2 separate regions of the Homo sapiens genome follow, and region 2 is linked to region 1. The links are contacts of gene promoters, found by promoter capture Hi-C in blood cells and fetal thymus (Javierre and others, 2016). All regions are on one chromosome and are shown on one strand. The core of a region is centred on a gene start or on the middle of the fragment in contact, and the rest is flanking DNA. Distances in the headings are between cores, read along the strand shown.

The links. Contacts are between HindIII fragments. The CHiCAGO score rates a contact against its expected background, and 5 or more counts as called.
Region 2: a fragment that was not itself captured here is called in contact with the fragment with the promoter of FAM200B in region 1 in 1 of 17 cell types (activated CD4 T cells); the score reaches 5.8 in activated CD4 T cells.

Annotation. Positions count from the first base shown.
Region 1 is chr4:15,680,410-15,684,186 of GRCh38, reverse strand. It overlaps FAM200B (family with sequence similarity 200 member B), which reads right to left and starts at 2,360. Exons shown (of 2, transcript NM_001145191.2): 1 at 2,286-2,360. It also overlaps a transcript of FBXL5 not described here. RefSeq lists enhancers at 2,091-2,140, 2,151-2,390, 2,561-2,860. The HindIII fragment of the contact is 4,207 bases long and covers 1,246-3,777 here.
Region 2 is chr4:17,503,882-17,508,056 of GRCh38, reverse strand. It overlaps QDPR (quinoid dihydropteridine reductase), which reads left to right. Exons shown (of 7, transcript NM_000320.3): 3 at 3,582-3,678. Among named protein-coding and RNA genes, the nearest start is that of QDPR, 6.1 kb to the left of the region's middle. The HindIII fragment of the contact is 2,433 bases long and covers 1,425-3,857 here.

The DNA of each region.
Region 1 (3,777 bases), core at 1,111-3,610:
GGCCCAAACACCAAAGACCTATAAATGTGTACACTGATGCTTAAGATGTGTGCACTGAAATTGGCTCCTGCGGCTACATGGCAACATTTCCAAGTAATAACTTTATTCAGCTATCCATCTACTTAGCCTCCCTTAAGAATTGCAATTAAGGTAATCAAATATTTGTAGTTGAAAGTTTCTCATACACCAAGGTGCATTAACACGGTTATATGATATGGTTTTAGGTAAGTGATTTTCCACTAATAAATCTTATCTACCTGTTCCTAGAATAGTGCTTGCTGTATGGTAGTTACTCAATGCATATGAGAGAATGAGAAAATTAATGACACCTGTAGTAAACTGTACAATGTACACTCTATTTTTATCACAGTCAGTAACAAATAAGTTATCCAACTATATTTGGACAACTGGGAAATATGTAAGACGAAGGCTAATAAAACATATTATTTAAAACAGGATTGTTAAAGATTCTACTTCATAATAAACTGCTTATGTTAAGAAATAGTAGAAACAATGATCCTATAAAAACATACATGTAAATTTAGATTTAGCTTTTAAAGCTTAGAACCTAAATCTACCTGAAAAAAAGAAATATACATTAAAAAAGTATCTTATTTTTATATTACTATATATGGATCATTTATCTCTTAGAAGCAATTGTCTTTTAACTATTCCATTCTTTCATATTCTTACTATTCACGTTTCAATCCCCCCTTGAAAGTTTGTAACACTAGTTCAGTTACTATTGTATTAAAAAGATATTTTTAAAGGGTTTACTCTCCCTCCTAAATCAGACAGTTCATCTATAGTAACAGCAGTGGCAGTATATTAGGGAACAGGTCTGGTAGATGTGGTGATGAAAGCATGGGGAAGTTTTTTTTTAACTCAATAGGATGTGAGGTATCATCTAAGTAAGAGGCCGAAGTAGAAAATGTTGCAAGTTTGTCAGAAGAAAATATGAAATATTAATAATTGTTAAGGAATGTGATAATATGATGGACTAGGAAAATGTTTTTGGATTTTTAGTCTGGCTGGTTGTCTTACTTGCTTAATGCAATGATTGTTATTGTTACAATGCTTGATAGTCTAAAATTCCCCGTCACTAATCTTTTATATCCTAAGATATATCTCTAGTGCGCTGTATCATCTTCTGAAAATACAGCTCTAATCAGCTTCCTCATAACTGGAAAAGCATTTAATGGCGCCGAGCTTGTGTAAGCTCTTCAGGATAATATCCTTTAAGCTTAAGCCTCATCTTTCCAGGTTTCTCCTTCATCACATGATCTCCATACATTCTACATTTCAGTACTAAAAGTATGGAAATTCTTGAAATAGTTCATGCACTTTCATGTCTCTGCTTTTGGCTAGTATTCCTTTTGCCTGGAATACTCTTGTTGGGTCACATGAAGTCCTATTTATTCTTTTCTACTTAGTTCAAATGCTACAGCAGCCATGCATTCAACTAACATTTAGCTACCTACAGTGCCTAAAGTATGTCAGGCACTGGAGATACTAAACAATGAACAGTGACATATTAAAATAACAGAATATCTGTTCAGCTATTAAGATGAATAAGGTGGAGTTACACAACACTGACAAATCTCAAAAACATTATGTAAAACAAGCTAGCTGCAAAAAGATGTACACATTACAGATTGCATAAAGGTGGTTAGGAGAGTGGTTTCCTTAGGCAAAAGGAAAGAGAATGAGACGGGGTAGAGCTGACAAAGGACTTCAATCACTTATATAATCATTTATTTCTCCAATTCAGTGGTGAGTACACATGTGTTATAGTTTTGTTTCTACCTTTTTTCTGTCTAAAATCGTCTATTTAAAAAAAGCATCTTTAAGGCTGGATACCTTCCTGAAGGCACTGGAAATCTGTCATACTGCCACTAACTTAAAATTACCTTCCACCTCTTGCATTTCCCTTTGTTTCCTGTTTTGACATTGCGCACACATTAGTTAGTACACTAGGCCTTAAGAGTGGAAACTGCCAGGTACCAGCTTTAGCTAGATTAAAACATGACCCTCTTCCCAGGAGACTCCTGACCGGTTTTCTCGTCCTCCAGGGACCCAGCTAGGATTTCAATGAACTTTGGCCTGAACCCCTCGGCCGACCCTAGAATAATCGCCCTTCAGGCCCGGATTGCTTCTGCTCTCACCTTCCCTCAATTCATACGGGGGGCAAAACCAGACTGTATTTCCCGCAACGAACCCTGGAATGCTTCGCTTTAGCGGACTCCGGTCCACTCCCATCAGAGGATGCCCTTCTTTCGCCTCACCTCCAGCCCAGCCGCAGCGACCCGGCCGGGCCCAGCGCTGCAAGCCTCAGGTCTCTCCAGCAGAGCTGCGCCTCTGCTCTCCCCACACTTCCCTCCGCAACACCACTTCCGGCCTACCTCACAAATTCCCCATTCCAGCCGAAAAGAACTGGATCGGCCCTCTGCGCATGCGTGAGACCGGGGCGGTGTCCGGGGGTGCCGGGAGCGGGCGGTGCAGGCTCCACTTTTCCACTTCCCTACGCTCTGTCGGCAGTCTCGCGGGATTTCCGCCTCTCGCGGGAGTTATTTGAATGCCAGGGCGGTAACGACTCCCTAGGCGCCTGGGGCCCTCTGACAAGAAACCCTAGGAGACACCGCGGAGAACTCTGCCTCTGAGCTGGTGGGCGGGCCGGATGTAGCCGAGCGCGGACAGGGCTAGTCCGGACAGAGTCCCAGAGCCATGGGAGCGAAAAGAGACTGCTGCGGATTAAGGAGGCCTTTCGGTTGGCGCAGCAGCCACACCACAACCAGGCGAAGCAGGTAGTGGCGCTGAATCGCTCCTGCCGCGGGGTAAGCGCTCCCGGCCCGCGCCCGCCCCAGCCCCGACCTGGCGGGGCCAGGACGCTGGTTCATACACTCCAAGGTGATTTTCATAGTCTTTGTGGAAGAATTAGAGAATTTTGAACTTTGATATCATTGCACGTGTTTACTTATTTAGAGAATCGCATTGTGTTTAATAATCATAGTATTCCTGTGCGACTCTTTAGGTTAGCAGATCATTGATTTTTAACATAAAACTGCATTTCATTAAATAGATTTAAATATGTATGTATATTTCTGTCCTCTAATGATTGTAACAAAGCAGATTTCTTGATCATTAACAAGATAGGTTCGTGCAAATAAGTGCATCTTTGTCACAAACCAAATTTTTTTGTGGTTGAGATATATATTTATATATATATGTGAAACAAAAAACATATAAAGGAGAATATATATATATTCTTATATATATAATATATACTGCTTTATTTTTTTGGGTTGACATATATATGTCATATATAGTTTTTTTTTAAATTCTACCTTAAACAGGGAAACATGTTAGATACAGGAGCTTGAATTTCAACTCTGAAACTTAATGCGACTTTATCAGCATTTCTCTTTCTCAAGCTACTTACTTCTTGTAGGATTACACAGTCAAATTTTTAAAAATTTTTGATTCTCCAACTGGATTTTTTTTTTTAATTTTTGAGACGGAGTCTCACTCTCTCGCCCAGGCTGGAGTGCAGTGGCGCAGCCTCGGCTCACTGCAACCTCAGCCTCCTGGTTCAAGCGATTCCCCTGCCACAACCTCCCGAGTAGCTGGGATTACAGGCGACCGCCACCATGCCAGGCTAATTTTTGTATTTTTCAAAAATACAAAGACGGGGTTTCACCATTTTGGCCAGGCTGGTCTCGAACTCCTGACCTCAGGTGATCCACCCACTTGGGCCTCCCAAAGTGCTGGGATTACAGG
Region 2 (4,175 bases), core at 1,392-3,891, 1.8 Mb before region 1:
ATGCATATTATAAAACAAAAGTCCAACAAAACTACGTAAATATAGAAATAAACTGTGAAACTGTCCCTTTTCTCCCCATCATAGTATCATTTCCCAGAAGGATGCACTATTAACAGTTTGATGGATATCCTGGTATAAATATCTTAGATGCTCTAGGCTGGGTGCAGTGGCTGACACCTGTAATCCCAGCACTTTGGAAGGCTGAGATGGGCGGATCACGAGGTCAGGAGATCAAGACCATCCTGGCCAACATGGTGAAACCCCGTCTCTACTAAAAATACAAAAATTAGCTGAGCGTGGTGGTGCACGCCTGTAGTCCCAGCTACTCGGGAGGCTGAGGCAGGAGAATCACTTGAACCTGGGAGGCAGAGGTTGCAGTGAGCCAAGATTGTGCCACTGCACTCCATCCTGGGTGACAGAGTGAGACTCTGTCTCAAAACAAAAAAAAAAAAAAGAAAGAAAAATCTTTGATGCTCTTAAGCAGTGCTTAACTTTCTTGAGAAGCCCTTCTGGTGAGCTGCCTGGATGACTTTTGAGTCAGGTTCTCACTGTGTTGCCCAGGCTGGACTGGAACTCCTGGGCTCAAAGGATCCTTCTGCTTCATTCTCCCGAATAGCTGGGACTTCCTGAGTAGCCACTGTGCGCAGCTGACTCTGTGTTTAATGGTTTTTAGTGCTGTAGCCCACATTCCCAAGGATAACTTCACATCACTATGTGAAGCGCCTTATTTTCCCAACCACTCAGTGTGGCAGGCAGGCAGGCCATTTTACAGCTGTGAAGACAAGTTTGCGCGACTAAGTGACAAGGCCAACAAGCTACTCAGTGGTGGAGTCAGGATCATAGGTCTCCAGATACGAACTTTAATAAGTTCAGGTGCCACTTGGTCTGTACGTGGGTCTGCTTTTCATTTAGTTGCACTTTCCTTGGTAATCTCAATACTGATGTTTTATGATCCTTATCTGGTTTTTATAACAAATTTTTAAAATTTTAGAAGTGATGCATGTATGATATAGAAAATACAAATAAGCAAAAAGAAAAGGGAAATCATTTATAGTTCTACCATATAGTTAATCATTTATTTATATTTCCTTCCAGTCTGTCTCTCCAAAATATACATGTATAAATCTATACATTTTGAACATAAAACTGTGAGCACAACTCTGCTACTCATTTGCTCTTTCTAAAGTGTCAGTTTGACATAGATTGGAATGTAAAAGCCAGATGACTTATTTTAGCACTTCATTTTTGTTGTTCTTATTTTTCTCACTGTGGTCTCAATGTTCCCATACCTAAGTCATACAGATTGACCTTAGTGAATTTAATAGTGAAAGTTGACATGGCATCATTGTTAGTTGCCAGGCACCATTCTCAGTGCTTTATTTTCATTAACACGTGTAGTCTTCATTACATCCCCAAACAAAGCTTCTAATTTTATCCTCCTTTTAAATGGGGGTAACTGAGGCACAGAAAGGCCCTGGTATTTGTCCAAGGTCAAACAGATAAAAGGTTGCATAGCCACTATTTGGACATGGGCAGTGGGGGTCTGACGGCTGTTCTCTTAACTGCTATGCTAAGCTGCCTTAAAGCAAAATAGTTTCATGTGAATAAAGTAATAAAGGCCAAAATGGCTGGGTGCAGTGGCTCATGCCAGTAGTCCCAGCACTTCAGGAGGCTGAGGCAGGAGGATCACTTGAGCCCAGGAGTTTAAGACCAGCCTGTGCAACATGGCGAAACCCCATCTCTACAAAAAAATACAAAAATTAGCTGAATGTGGTGGCACACAACTGTAGTCCCAGCTACTCGGGAGGCTGAGGTGGGAGGGTGGCTTGAGGCTGGAAGGCAGAGGTTGCAATGAGCCGAGATCATGCCACTGCACTCCAATCTGGGCAACAGAGCCCAACCTTCTCTAAAAAACAAACAAAAAATAAAGTAATAAAAGCCAAAACTAAATGGAAGGGCGGTTCCTGGGCTTGGAGAGCAGCAGCCCTGCCAGGTGCGGGTCTCTGTAATTGGTGTCTCTTCAGTGTCTCTTCTGCTCTGATTAATTATAGGTTTCTAATGTCCCTGTAGATTGAATGTGGAGGTTGTCCCCACCCAAGGCTTGGCAGTAGAGTGCATCTCTAAGACAGAGATTGAGAGATGCGTTTGTGCTTATAAACTTTTCTTTGAAAATCTCTTCCTTCTTCTACTACTCCACCAAAGGAAGAGGAGTACCTTCTCCACCATACCCCCAACCTTAAGAATTTCTGAACAAACAGCATAACATTCAGTTTTGTCATGAAACTGGGGAAAGAGGTAATCAACTGAAATGTTCCTACTGGGAGAGACACAGGGTGTTGATTTAAGTCTTTTTTAAAAAAAACTAAATGTAGAGATGAGGTCTTGTTATGTTGCCCGGGCTGGTCTTGAACTCCTGGGCTCAAGTGATCCTTCTGCCTCTGCCTCCCAAAGTGCTGGGACTACTGGCATGAGCCACTGTGCCCAGCCTGATTTAAATCTTAAGAAGATTGGGCCAGGCGTGGTAGCTCAGTCCTGTTGTCCCAGCACTCTGAGAGGCCGAGGCAGGCGAATCACCTGAGGTCAGGAGTTCGAGACAAGCCTGGCCAACATGGCGAAACCCCATCTCTACTAAAAATACAAAAATTAGCTAGGTGTGGTGGCAGGCGCCTGTAATCCCGGCTACTCAGGAAGCTGAGGCAGGAGATTCGCTTGAACCGGGGAGGTGGAGGTTGCAGTGAGCCGAGATGGCGCCATCGCACTCCAGCCTGGGAGACAAGCGAAACTCCATCTCAAAAAAAAAAAAAAAAAAAAAAGAAATCTTAAGAAGATTGATCTTAATGAAGCAATTGGGATTTGTCATCTCAGCCATTCCAGAGAAATACGGAAGAGTCGTGGTGGATGGCCAGAATTGCCTGTCCTGACAGACTGTTCTTTTCATAAATTATAACAAGAGGGCATACATATATTTTCAATGCTTTAAAATCTCAAACAAACAGAAGCAGAGAGATCATTAAAGTGAACCCCCATGTACTTAATATTACCAACATATTGCTATTGACTGTATTTTTTCTTGGCTCATGATTTTTCTTACAATTTTTCGTTGGCATTTTTTTCAGAGTTGCAGTTAAAGGGATTTTTGGATTGGGGTGGGGAAAACAGGGTTGATCTTCTTTTTGGATTATAATTCTGTGATTTGTGAAGAGAGTCTGGAAAGAAATACACCAGGATGTTAACTATGTGCAGGCAGTGAAGCTCTAGGTGCTTTTTTCTTTTTTTTTTAACCTTTCCCTACTTTTATTTATTAATTGTTGTATTTCAAGGGATGCTCATGTCTCTACCTTTCAGAATGTATACACAGAGACTCTAGATTGTTTTTTAAAAATCACACTGAAGTGTACTTGGGCTTCAATGTCTAAAATGCTCATCAGAGCTTAGTCTTCCGTCTAATTCTCAAAGCATTAATTGCCAGGTACTGTAAACTGGCTTAAAAAGAAGAGAAAAAGAAACTGAGTATCCGTAAAGATGCTAGCCTGTGTTGGCTTACCTTACAGTTTATACATTTTTTTGTTCTTGTGTTGAAGGTGACTGCTGAGGTTGGAAAGCTCTTGGGTGAAGAGAAGGTGGATGCAATTCTTTGCGTTGCTGGAGGATGGGCCGGGGGCAATGCCAAATCCAAGTGTGAGTCCTTTCCTGAGTCACTCATTTGTTCTGCTCTGCTCTTTTTCCAGCTGACAAGGATTGGGTTTGCACTAGGTGACAGGCCAGCTGTTTTTTTGTGTATATCCCGGAATCTTTACAGTTGCTCGGGGAGAGAGTGATTAATGCTCTTAATCCATTTTACGGATAAAGAAGAAGCTTCCCCTGGAGGACGTGAGGGGACGGGGGGCATTGAGTTTGAGTTTAAAGTAGAGGCAGAATGAAATCAGCATGGCCTGTGCCCCAGGCCATGTGCTATTCAGGCATTGGAGGATGTGTAGGAAGTGCAGAGATCATTTAGAAAGTCAGAAGAAGTCAAACTTGAGATTTTACTAAAGCTGATTCCTTTTTTCATCTTTTCTTTTCCCTTCCCTTCCCTCCCCTCCCCTCTACTCCCCTACCCTTTTTCTTAAGACAGAGTCTTGCTCTGTCACCAGGCTGGAGTGCAATGGTGTAATCTCGGCTCACTGCAACCTCTG